Linked DNA regions of Homo sapiens: regions 1 and 2 are each linked to region 3. The links are contacts of gene promoters, found by promoter capture Hi-C in blood cells and fetal thymus (Javierre and others, 2016). All regions are on one chromosome and are shown on one strand. Each heading gives the region's core, a stretch centred on a gene start or on the middle of the fragment in contact. The rest is flanking DNA. Distances are from core to core; before and after follow the strand shown.

Region 1 (4,394 bases), core at 225-2,724, 1.2 Mb before region 3:
AGAAAAAGGCATTAACATTGTTATTACTCATAAGGTCATGGCTTGCTGGAACCTGCTTATATTGAAAAATATAGATCTTGCCTCTGCAGTTCCCTAATACCATTTATTTAATTCTGGTTACATGATTGCTCATGACTTTGCATCATCCATAGTGCTTTCCATGATTACTGGCCCCCAAAGACTCTCTTAAATGTTGTTACTATGTTTTATTGATGATGAACAGAAATGTAAACTTACCCAGACTATGCAGAAACATGTGAACAACAATTCATTCTCCATTCATGTTAAATTTCTCGTTTTGAATTTTAATGCATAAGCATAGAACAACATGACTTCCAACTATATTTTCTCTTGAACTCCTTAGGCTATAATCACTGCACACATAAAACATGATCTTCTTAAAAGTTGACTCTCTCTTCCTTCTATACACTGCCACCAGAGGAGAGAACAGATGAGGAGTTTGAGGGGAAGGGGAATGGGATAGGGAAAGAATGGTCCAATTTGTGTAAGGAAGTCCATCTTACAAAAGCATGGCATTACCACAGTGATCAATAGCCAGAGTAGATATAGATCCAAAGGCCTTAGAGTAGATAATATGACCAAATCCCAGAGAACTGCCAGACATGGGGCATGGAACCTAAAGAAGGGGTAGGTATCTGCCACAGGGATGGCCAAGGGTACATAGGGTAAAGAATACTCTTCAGTGCTGGATCAAAGGTGGTACTGTGGTCACAACAGAGGTGAGTGTGAGCCCATGTTCTAGACCACACACTCAGATCAAGCTCAAGTTTTAGCAGTAGATTCTTTGTAGCTCTGAGTCCTGAACTTGTCTTACATCGATAAGAGAGTCGGCCAACATCTGCTGCTTGTTGGTTCCATTCTGAAAACTCAGTCTTGTGTGGTCCCACAAAAAGAAATTCTGTGCTGACATTGGGAGTTACCACTCTTCAGTCTGCTCTCTTGGATTAGAGGTCAGGCAGGGGTCTCAGGACAATCCCATCCGCATGAGCCCTAGGGTTCCATGGGCATTTGGTAGAACCCAGGTCCTGGAAAGTTGGTTGGAGAAATACCTTAGTGGAGAAATGGAGAATGAAGACCTTGTGTTTTATGATCTGAGCTTGGAGAACCCTGATTGGATGGCACTGCTGGTCTAGCCACTACCAGGCATAGAGGAAGCTACAGAAAATGTAGAGAAAAACACTCCAAAGTGTGAGATCCTTCTAGAACTGGAAATATGCAGGCCTATGTACTATAGTCTGAATGCTTTTGTCCTCTGAAAATTCAAAGATGGAAACCTAATCTCCAACGTGATGGTATCAGGAGGTGGGGCCCTTTGGGAGGCAATTAGGTCATGAGGGCTCCTCAGCATCCAGATAAAAGGTTACTGTCCTTATAAAAGAGACACTATGAGGCTTGTTCCTTCCCTCTTCCACCACATGAAGACACAGCTAGAAGATGTCATCTATGAGGGAAGGGGCCCTCATCAGACACTGAATCTGCTGATGCCTTGATCTTGAACTGTTCACCTTACAGAACGGTGAGTAATAAGTTTCTGTTGTTCATAACATACCCTGTATATGGTATTTTGTTATAGCAGTTTAAATGGACTAAGACATTGTGCCTATCCAACATCTGACACCACCATTTTAATATTTTAATTCCTACTTTTTATGTTTTTAAACTTTTAGACTTGAAAATCAATTTCATTTGTTTATTCTTTGCTCTCTTTCCTCTTTCAAAATATTGCACCACTCAGAATTTAATATTAATTGAAAATGTTTTTTTTAAATGTCAATAATTCCCGAAGATACTATATTTAACCTGGGAAAATAAAAGACATTCTATGTCTTTGGGATGAGAATTGAATCACACCAGAAACTACACTCAATAAATAGTGCTTCAATGTTTCCCACACTGCTGTTTAAATATGTATACTTAATAGTTCTATTTTCTAATTTTATATGGATGACTCAACAAATCTGTAGTTGCTAATTAAAATAATTCTGTAGTTAAGTAAAATTTGCATATAATAGATGTATTATCCTATCAAAGTATTAGACAAACTTTTGTTTTTATAGAAGTTTGTTGTGATCATCCCCATTATTTTATTTACTCCTCACAATAAGCTAATAGGTAGATACAGGCCATGTAAATAGCTGGCTTTAATAGATGAGGAAACTAAGGTGAGGGACTTAAGGTCGTCAAAGGTTATATATTTGATGTCACAGTCATGAACAGAACTGGGCTTGCTGGACTCATCTGATGCTCTTGTGCTTCCAGCAACTACCATGTTCTTTCCCCAGGCATACCTATCATGATTAAGATAATGTTTATTCTGAGTCTTTTTGATGTTTATCATGTCAAAAAAGATAACATGTCATTTTTCTTTCTTTCTTGATGCCTATGTTGCTTCAAGGGAATATAGTTTTAATATTCAATAGTGAATATTAAATACATCTCTTACACATGATATATGACAAGAAATCTATATTCTGCATTCAGCGTTGTACTGTTACCCAACATTATGATATATGTGTCAATGCAGAGAACACAACGGATTGGATCCTCCTGCCAGTCACCTTTTAACTACCTAAATTTCACAGCTTCTCAGGGATGCAGGCAGAAGAATCTTGCTGCTTGTTAGCTTTGATGCCCCCATGTCCCTTTCTTAATTCCGAATAAAGAACAAAAAGATTAGTATCCTTATGTGGTTGGTAACTGATAAGCAGAACAGTTTTCCCCATTTTCAAAAGAAGTGATGCTGTCATAACCTGCTCCTAGGGTTCCAACAGGACTTCCTGTCATTCTACAAGATTCCAGGGATAGGTTCATAATGATTGCTTAGGTGTGCAGGCTGACATTATAAAGCTAGGGGATAGTGCAGTGTAGTGGGGAACAGCAAGAGTTCTGGAGTTAGACGAAACTAGGCAGACTCTTACTTTGCTGTTTACTGCTTGTGTGATGTGGTCAAGTCTTGTACCTACATTGAGTTCATTTGGACCTACATCAACATGTTTGTTTTTTTTTAAACTAGAATTTCCCAAATGAAAATCATTTAGTATTCTTGAAATGACTTGAAACTGGTTTCTCTGACAGTAGACTCTTATCATCAAAATCTCTAAGGTTCTAACTATGATTTTATGATAGCCCATGTTCATCTATAGATGGTTGAGGGAGAAGTAAGTTCAATGAGTTCTGGGAACAGAAATCCAACATTTTACACAAGTCCTTTCTAGTTCTTTGTTTTCTTTCTTTTTTGATGATATAAGTTCTGTTTCAACAATACTTTTTCACAATATCTAATGTAATACATAGGAAAAAGAGATGTGGCAGGGCAATAGAGTATGGTACAAAAAAGTAGATGTAAAACCCTTTTATAAAAAACTTTTTTTAAAAAAATAAATCATGTTCATGAACTTCAAGGCCTCTCAGAGAAATGGTGCTGCTTGCCAAAGTCCTCTGCAGAAGTGTGTGTGATAAAAGTGTTACAGGTCCAATCTGTCTTTATGGCCCTGTTCCTTCCTTCTTCGTCACAAATACCACATACAGTTATTAAATTATATCTGAATTTATAAAAGATTGAAGAAAACAAAAAGCAATGGAGAAAGAATTGTAAATGAGAGTGACATGGCTTTCCCATGGTCCAAAGGGAAAGTGTCCCAAAATTTCTACCTTTCCTGCAAGGCCTCTTAGGAAGGTGTCCCAGTTTCTAACCTCATTCTATCATCAGGTTTGTAAGAGTTTCTCCTTGTCAATTTCTTTATCTACTGTTAGAAATTTTATTTCTTATCCACAAATTAGTCTTACTCTAGAATTTATTTCCCTCCCTCCCAGAAGTATACTCTCCCAAGTATGAGTTGTAATAATTTCATGGGGGCTCAAGAAGGACAGTGCAAATTTGGCATTCACACTCCAAGTCTTAGAGAAAGATCTAGAATGGGTGTGGCCTTGACAAGCCTCATCTCTAAAAGTCTCTCCAATGGTGTGAGTTGCAGATGGGCATCCTTAATCTTAGTGTTAAGTGGGTAGCTGTTGGATTACACACACACACACATACTCTCTCTCACACACACACACTCCCTCTCTCACACACACACTGTCTCTCACACACACACGCACACACACACCACACAAATGCATACACATCTCTCTTCTGGGCAAATAATGTTCAGGGACAGGAAAGACTAAATCCATAAGGAAGAAGAGAAACGAGTTTCTTCCCTATAATTTTCAAGGCCACTGTTATCCAAAGTTTGTTCTGGTGGTGTTAACATTTTTTTTTTCATTTACTTCCTCATTTCTAAATTGCATCTCATAAGGCTACTGGGTATAAAGTAAATAACCAGTTCAGGTGTCTCATTATACCTGCTTTCTTAGCTGTATGTGACCAAACC
Region 2 (4,409 bases), core at 1,304-3,803, 1.3 Mb before region 3:
CTCTCTCTGAATCTTTGACATCTCAGATGAAAAAAAATTGTAAATTCTATGGACTTAATATTTTCAACATACTTCAATTTTTTTTTCAACTATAAAAATGGAGATAATTTCCTAGAAAATTATTCTCTACTGGGTCGTAAGCTAGTCACGCTGTATAACTTTAAAACTTAACAGACTTTTACTTAAGATATACTTTTATATTTGGTCTTCACAACAAACCAGTGAGAGAATAACGTAACAACATTTTGAACACCCTCCCACTCTACCTTTTTTATCTTTCTGCTTTTTAATCTCAGCTACCTGTTTCTCCTCACGGTTGCCCACCCCAGCAAAAAACAAATAGGTCCTCAGAACCATACATCTGAAACAATAAGGCAATCTTTTTCACCAAAGATAAAACTCCAGCTTCTACTAATCAAGGCTTAAAAAAATCTTATGGTATCAGTTTCAGCTGGGGCATATGATTACCAATGATGAATGAATGCATTATTTCAAACATTTATTGGGTGTCACAGAGTTGGAAAAGCAGTAGTCTATGTTCTAGTCCCAGTCCTATGGCTCATTAGTTGAGAACTTAGAGGAAAGTAATTTATTTTTTTTCTTTCTTTATGACATTACCTGACCTCAAATTTTTTTCTGACCACAAAGTGAGACTTGAAATACTTTTGAAGATATGATACAGCAACTCATGATTTAAGGCCTGTATTGAAAAATATATAATGTGCCAAAAACTAATTAATTGTAACTAAGGTGAATTTTTAAGACTTGAGTGGACAGGGAATTTAGAAGAGGTCAAATTTCACAAGCCAACTAAAGGACATTATATTTCATCACCACTGTAACTTACCACAACAGATCTTGGCATTGCTGGCTTAAACACCGAACAGAATTCCAATAACCTTTTCTCATAGTATTTGCAGAGTGTCATTTCTTCATGAGGCTCAAGAAAGACTGGATCATTCGGAAGAACCTTTAGATCAACAATTACAACACAAGTTCAATGAATTCAATGAATTAAACAATTGTAAAACATTTTTCTCTATCTAGATTAAATTTAGTTTATATATCCAACGAAGGGTATATATCACGCCTCATTTTCTTTATAGATTCGCTAATCATTACACAAAATAGCTGTAGGAAAATATTTAATAAACTAAAACTGTACCATCATTTCACGACTTTTCGGAATGTCAGCTAGACCTTTGCTTCATTAAAGTATAAACAATCATGACAGGCTGTGTGCACATGCTCACAGTTGTGATATCATTATTTATAAATTAAAAAGTAGACAGACTTTTTAAAATATGATTGGAAAGCTTCCAACATCCGTTTCTCGGTCAGTCATTACGTCACAAGTTGTAAAAAAACAGCAAATGTTTCAATAAATTTCTGTTATTTTAAGCTACCCAGTTTGTGGTGATTTTTTTAAGGCAGCCCTTAGGAAACTAATTCAGGTGCTAAAATCAGTGATATGAAATAGATGTGAATTAAAGGTAGAAAGTAAAGTAACTCAGTATCGGTAATTTGGAGGCACTGAACACTTGCTGGAGTGGAGCTTGCAGGAAAGATTAAACCAGTCCGAGAGCTGTAACAGAAGGAACTTGGCTAGCGGGCCATAGTCCAAACCATCTTCAGTCACTTGGTTTGTACTTGGTCTCTGGTCTCCCTCCCTCATCCAACCCATTCACCACGAGGTTGCTAGAGCGCTGTTTCCAGAACGGAAATCTGATAAGGTTAGCTTCCCATTTTAAATATTTCAAAGGTTCCTCATCCTTTCAGTGGAAATGTTAAACGCCTCACTTCCACTTACAAGTTCCCTTCCTACCCTCCCCAGCCATTCCTGCACAGGTACTCAACTTCGGCCACATACGACCACAAACACGTCCACGCACCATCTCTGTAACTTCTGACCTCCCTCCCACTCTGAACGGTGGTTCTGACTGCCTGGAACTTCCTTTCCCATTTTCTCCGCATTGGCTACTGGGAAAAACCTTCCCCAACATCATCTCTTGACAAGTGAACGGCTCTTGCCACGCACTACCTTAGCACACTACTTACTCTCTTCTTCACTACGTTACAAAGACTGGTTACTTGTCTGCCATTCGACGACGGGGATGGCGTTGTTCGTCTTTGTACCCACGGAACCTGGCAAGGTGCTCGCTTATTTTGATAGAAAAACGCACTCCGCGCCGCAGAGGCAGAGAAACGACGGAGCGAGATTGTCCTGGGAGCCAGAAGAGCTCCCGCAGCTGCTCAGAATTTAGTGACCGGGCAACTGGGCAACCGTTGGGAAAACCTCACCTTCCCGTTGGCCACGGCTTTGCATCTGAATTTGCGGTTGGCGTCAGCCCGCAGTCTTGCCAGCTGCTCCTCGCTGGAGAAGGTCCAGTGCCGCTTCTGACTACTGTTGTGGTACATTATGGAATCGTGACCAGGTCCAGAGGGTCTGCAGACGAGAACCCAAACGCATCAGCGTCCTGGCGTAAAACACCCGTACCCCCACCGAAGATCTCGCGGAAGCCTAGGGCGTCCGGCTAGCCGGCGCTGGCGCGCTGTCGTCACGATTACGCGGCCAGCCCGTACGCAGTTGCATTTCCGGAGCGGACTAGGAACAGACCGTATCCCGGGTTCGTTAGGGCGCCCACTGAGACGTAAGTGGGCGGAGCCTAGAGAACGCTCCTCTCGGTGAGTCTGGGACATAGCTCCGCCCCTTCCAGGCAAGATTTAAAGGAGAAGCGCCCGGCAAGAGTGTTCAAGGGGCATAAACTGAGGGTACGGAGTAGGCAGATGTAAATTCACAGGGGATAATCAGAAATGAGGAAAGGATTTCGTAGGGTGCTCATTTTTAAATAGAGGCCTCACTGAAGTTGACATTTGTGAAAAGGCTTGAAAGAGTTGAAATAGTAGGTTGATCAATCATGTAGGGAGATCACGGGGCCCAGAAAGAATAGGTAAGATCTTCAGGCAGAAGCATTCCTAGCCCTTTTCAGGAAGAGTTTGGAGACCAGTATTCTTGAAGCACTACCAGAAATCTCGGAGAATGGAACATGGCTGAAAAACTTGAAGCAGTGGATGCGTATTGGCCCTTACAGTTCTGCCACTTTTGTTGCCTTGTCTGTTCTTTCTCTGTGCTTTTTTTCCTTACCCTTCTGTTGATAACTAGCCAATCCTCTCCCTCTGTTTTCATCTCTGAAGCCAGGATGTATGGTAGTATTCGTTTTATTGAGATTCCCATTTTCATTGCCTCTAGGGAGCCTTACAGTAAGCTATCATGAAAATTAAGGTATTTACTATTTTTTAAATTAATAGGACTTTCAAAATTGCAGGTGAGGTTCAAAATTTACATGGATTCTGGTTTGTCCCATTTAGGCATACCTTATTCTCTCATGTATTTATTATATATCCAATCCGAAAAATGGATTTCCCTATGGCAAATAGCTTTTCTAAAAAATAAATAAATAAATAAAAAGAAAGAGAAAGATGATGAGACCTAGAGAATTTAGGTCTTGAAAAGCCCACACAGGTAAAAAGAAGAAGTGGCAGGATGACTTTAACTCTGCTTTCTATTAAAATGTTTTTAGGGGCTTAAGAAAGGGAAAGCCTTTTCTTTTTCATTTTTGTTGGGTACAGCTGAGGTTAGAGTTTGCCACAGTTATCTGAATTCCTCAAACTTATGCCATTTGTGGTATATAATTTTGGAGAGCCACACACTCAACATATGTGGCTAACCTGGTCTCATAAATTGGCTAAGAAAAGAGAGAAAAAGAGAAGATCAAAGGGCATGGCAAATTGATTACAATGAATTGTGAACAACCTAAAATGTTGCATGTTGGGGAAAGAATAATTTAAAAGAGAAAAACATAATGGTACAAAAGATAGGAAAATAAGTGATCTAGATAATTAAATGTCTATATAAAGTCTTAGCCTCATGACTGTTATATATATCATATAAATTCTTTTCATTTTGTTTTTCTGAAAGATATTTGACAACTCCTTAGTTTTATGTAAAGGATAATAAAAATAGGCATTTAAAAGAGTTGGCAGACTGTGATTTCCACAGAGATATGAGTAAAATTTCTGAATGTCATTTAGGAAAAATATATGAAAAACCTGGCATTGCTGGTGTAATTTTTTTTAAACCTTGAACAAATTTTAGTCCATGAAAATTGACATTGATCTTATTTTTCAGATGTAGTAGGAATTGGGCTCTGTCTAAATTAACTGTCTGAGGAATACAATTGTTGCTGATGCCCTAACATTAAGGCTCATGTATGGTTTTTCTTACTAAGGTAAGCAGACTGGATGCTGTGACAGTCTCCTACTCAGCCTGTTGTGCGACAGTGTTTCTTTGCTATTGCTACCACAGGAGGCACACTGGAATGCAGAACTTGTGCCTTTACCTATTTCCA
Region 3 (4,045 bases), core at 556-3,055:
TGGTAGTTCCGAGCCTGCGCGCGTGCGACCGGGTACGGGAGGGGGAAGAGTGCCGTAAAAATTCAGACGAGTGGCCCGTATGTAAATGCAGCCCGCGGGGAGCAGGGAGGCGGTAATGACAGCCGCTGGCGCTCAGCCCCGCCGGCGGCCCCTAGCTTTCCCGCCAAGTGCAGCCGGAGGACAGACAGCCATGCGTGTCCTTGGCGGGAGAGCCCCCACCCGCCGCGCGCGCCCGACCCCCGCGCACACGCACACACTCCCCTCGCAGGCGTGGGGCCCAATGGCCACGAACATGTCAGGAAAACAAAGCTGGGGCTGCGAGGTGGAACGATGAAACGGCACACTTGGCGGCCGAGGGCAGAGCGGAGAAGTCGCCACCACAGCCACCGGCGCCCCTTTCTTGCCTGCTCGTAGATCTGCCCTCCGGCCCAGAAGAGGCCGAGGACCATTTCTTAGCTGCCCCAGAGGAGGGGGCGAGCAGAGGAGGGGGCGGATGTGCACAGGGAGGTGCCAGCGGTCCGGTGCGCGGGCACGCACACGCCGGCGCGCAGGGCTGCCGCGGGCGGAAGGAGGGGAATGACAAGGCCTCGGCCGCGTCTCGGAGAGGCACTACCTCCGCGCTGAGGCCGCTGAGTTTCAAGTGCAAAACACCAGGCCAAATCCGGCAAGGCGGCGGCTACAGAATGGCTCACACTTCAAGCCTCCTTCCTCAAACAATCCGATGGGAAGGACCTGGCTGTTCAGGGGAAGCCTTTGCTGGCCTCTCTTTTTACATGGGGTGAAGTCGAACCCCAATCTAGGAGCCCTGGCCTAGATGGCTCCGCAGATGAGTCCCAGACGTGGCCATGGAAAGACTGATCTCTCTCTGCTCAGAGCGCCTGCCTCGGTGCTCACTAGCGCAAGCACCTCCCAACACACATACATACATACACACACACACACAACACAGCACTCCCATCACATTAAAACGCGCGCTCATGATCCTGCCGTTAATGAAGCCGAGGCGCATAATGAGTGCACAGGTAAATAGGTACCGAAACCAGAAGACTTCACCAGTCGGCTGGGCGATTTACCTCTCCCTACAGGGAGCACTTGTAGTTATCGTGTTTTAGGAGTGATTTGCTGTTGTCTGTGGTCTCTCGCTCCTCTTCTTGTGGAGAGAAGCCAAAAAATATATATGTTCCGTGGTCAGAGTCTTCTTTCTGATAAGCTACCCGAGCATTGGTCTAAAACATCTGTTTTATCTGTTGATTTTGGTTTGTTGTTTTGGGGAGTGTTGCTTTTCTGAGGGAAGCAAAAGAACGTGTGTGTGGTGGGGCTGGAAGCTCAGGGCAAGAGTCTGCGTGTGCGGCCGGAAGGCTGGCGAGTCTGAGAGCCGCGCGGTGCAGAAAGAAGGCGGCGGCTTGTCCTCCCCCGGGGCCGGCACTGGTCCCTTGGCACCCCGGCCTGGGCTCGGCTACTGCCGCCGCCGCCCGCGCTCTCGGGCTCCGCCGGCTGCCGCTCCGTGTTTTCCCCCATCCCGGCTTCACGTTCAAGGTTTAGCTGCGAGGTCACGTCCATTGACGTCAGCTCCCTGTCTCCCTCTACGTCCGGCTACATTTACATACATCAAGGAAATTAGGGCATTAAAAAAATATGCAAATCCTGCGCGAAGAGGAGCGGGTGCATTCCTGGCGCGATCGCCTTTTATTGAAGCTTTTAATTAAAGGGGCCAGTTGGCGAGCCCCTGAAACAACCGCCAAAACCCCCCAAAAGAGAAAAATAAACGCTGTAGCCTTCGAGAACGGTTGTTTCGGCTCCTGTTCTGTGGGCGGCTGAGGACCGCCGGCTGCCCGGCTCGGAGAAGAACAGGTTAGAGGAGGCAGCTCCAGCCCATGCATAATCAGGGCTCCGCGGCGCCTCCATTCTTTCCTCCTCCTCCTCCTCCTCCTCCTCCTCCTCCTCCTCCTCCTCCTCCTCCTCCTCCTCCTCCTCCTCTTCCACCTCTCCTCCTCCTCCTCCTTCTCCTCCACCTCCTCCTCCTCTTCTTGCTCTCGCTCCTGTTGGTTCCAGCGTGTATTATTTTTAATACTGATGCATATGTAAAGGTATATTTGCATTTTTTAATTTGCGAGAATTTCAGATTTTGTCATTTTATTGGTTCCCTTTCCCTCTTTTTTTTTTTGGAGGATTTTTATTGTTGTTATTTTATTATGTCTATGTGTCTCTCTTGTCCCTTTCTGTCTTTTTTGGCGAGTGTCTGCTGCTGTCTCTTGCTAGATAATATACACAGTTACCTCCCTGCTTCTGTTTATTTAAGGTTACAAATATGCACATCTGTCATGTATGCAATGCCAGCTGTATAACCTCCTGGTTTGGTCATAAAGGAAAATACACATTTTTTTTTCTTTCTTGACATACCTTGATGGGCTGTAGTGCCCATCGCTCAAGGCTCAAAGTTTGATTGTCTAATTAACTTCATATTAGCAGAAACACAGTTCGGGGCCAGTGCTTTCGAGATAATGTATGTATAAGTGAAGTGATTCCAAAGATTTCTAAATAATTTTTGTGCTGATTGCCTGAGAGGTGCGGCATTCCCCGCCCTATTGCTTTCTAGCATTTCTTATTGAAAAAAATATATATATTTTAAAATGGGTAGACACAGCAATGGACAGCCTTCTGCAAGGAAGACATTTTCAACCATGTTGTATGTTGTACCTTATTGGCTGCATTCAAAATTTACTGAGTTTCATTTTTATCTTAATATGGCTGGAAACAAGGCACATTATCTTGACTGAAAAGCATCCTTGATTCCTGACTTTGAAATGAAAGCAAATACACAAATAAAACAATTGGCTATATTAAACCAGTTGATGTGGCTTAAAATATACAGGCCTTGAGTTAGATTTCAAGCAATGGTAATCTTGTTTATAGGATCGGATTCTCTTTCTTGGCAATATAGCTATGCAGCACGATGGCTTTTTTCCACCTTTTAATTCCCCCAAGCTATCATTTAAAAAAGACTCAATCTATAATTGCAAACCCTGAAAGAACAGCAAGTATGCACACATGCAGCTTATTCAATTAAACAAGTCCAAGTACATGCACAGGTAATTAGTTTTCTTATGAATGACTTACCTGCACAGATACTCAGGCCAAGACTCAGCCCTCCCCAATGGCCTTCATGTATAAATATTCACATGTATTTCCCCCTATTTCAAACCTAAAGCGGTATGCCATCTTTCATGCTGGACTATCCAGCATCCATTTTCAGCACCCTTAACTCTTATGGAATTTCCAGCCTTACCTCTGGCTGTAGTTTTTCCAAGCCTACACCAAAGTGCTCATATGATATGTCACCCAATAAAAAGTGGTCAGATGGCTACACGTATGACATTAAAAAGCAGAAACACATTCATCCTTCAGGTTCGCCTTTACCTTGCCATATATAGCAAGATTACGTTTCCTAAAATACATTTTCAGCACATTTTATGAATAATTGCAGGATTCCACAACTGATTGCAGAATAGCCGGTTTCTGGGGGGCACCTGGCTGAGTGAAACAATTCGGCAGGCTCAAGGTCTCTTTGAGTTTGGCTGCAGTTAAATTGCGCGTGGCTGTTTGTTCCTGCCTGGACTCTCCCACATACCTGCCTACCTTTATGTAGGATCAGGACAAACACACCGGCCACGTTGCAGGGCATAGAGTGTCGGTGCATATATTTAGATGGCAGTAGCAAGGAACGCGTGCGTGTACGGCTGAGCATGCATGTGTGTACAGATGCGTGTGTATGTGCGCGCGCGCGCTATGTGACAAGGAACACAGAGAGGTACACCTCTTATCTCTGATCTCTCTGTAATCTCCTTTTCTGTTTCTAATCTCCCTTATTGGCGCATGGTAGTAACCCAAAGCGTGTGAACCGTCACCGTCGCTGCCGTGTGCGCGCTGTGGCTTACCCCGAGGGCCGGTGGCTCGGTGACTCGCTGGCTAGGTGGGTGTTGGGGAAGAGGGTGGGTAGCGTCGCTGCCGCTGCCGCCGCGGGTCCGGGTGCTCTGTCCCAGCCCGG

What was found. Contacts are between HindIII fragments. The CHiCAGO score rates a contact against its expected background, and 5 or more counts as called.
Region 1: a fragment that was not itself captured here is called in contact with the fragment with the promoter of MEF2C-AS2 in region 3 in 4 of 17 cell types (M2 macrophages, endothelial precursors, M0 macrophages and 1 more); the score reaches 9.4 in M2 macrophages.
Region 2: the fragment with the promoter of CCNH here is called in contact with the fragment with the promoter of MEF2C-AS2 in region 3 in 13 of 17 cell types (M2 macrophages, endothelial precursors, M0 macrophages and 10 more); the score reaches 24.3 in M2 macrophages.

Annotation. Positions count from the first base shown.
Region 1 is chr5:87,431,182-87,435,575 of GRCh38, forward strand. The region is part of intron 1 of LOC105379066 (a long non-coding RNA gene); the gene reads left to right. Among named protein-coding and RNA genes, the nearest start is that of CCNH, 20 kb to the left of the region's middle. The HindIII fragment of the contact is 6,327 bases long and covers 1-4,394 here.
Region 2 is chr5:87,410,377-87,414,785 of GRCh38, forward strand. It overlaps CCNH (cyclin H), which reads right to left and starts at 2,554. Exons shown (of 9, transcript NM_001239.4): 1 at 2,302-2,554; 2 at 848-970. The coding sequence starts at 2,418. LOC105379066 (a long non-coding RNA gene) reads left to right here and starts at 2,606. Exons shown (of 3, transcript XR_948543.1): 1 at 2,606-2,685. RefSeq lists enhancers at 2,181-2,310, 2,341-2,510. The HindIII fragment of the contact is 6,680 bases long and covers 1,315-4,409 here.
Region 3 is chr5:88,674,413-88,678,457 of GRCh38, forward strand. It overlaps MEF2C-AS2 (MEF2C antisense RNA 2), which reads left to right and starts at 1,806. Exons shown (of 4, transcript NR_146284.1): 1 at 1,806-1,851. The region is part of intron 1 of MIR9-2HG (MIR9-2 host gene); the gene reads right to left. RefSeq lists enhancers at 778-877, 1,315-1,880. The HindIII fragment of the contact is 5,913 bases long and covers 1,694-4,045 here.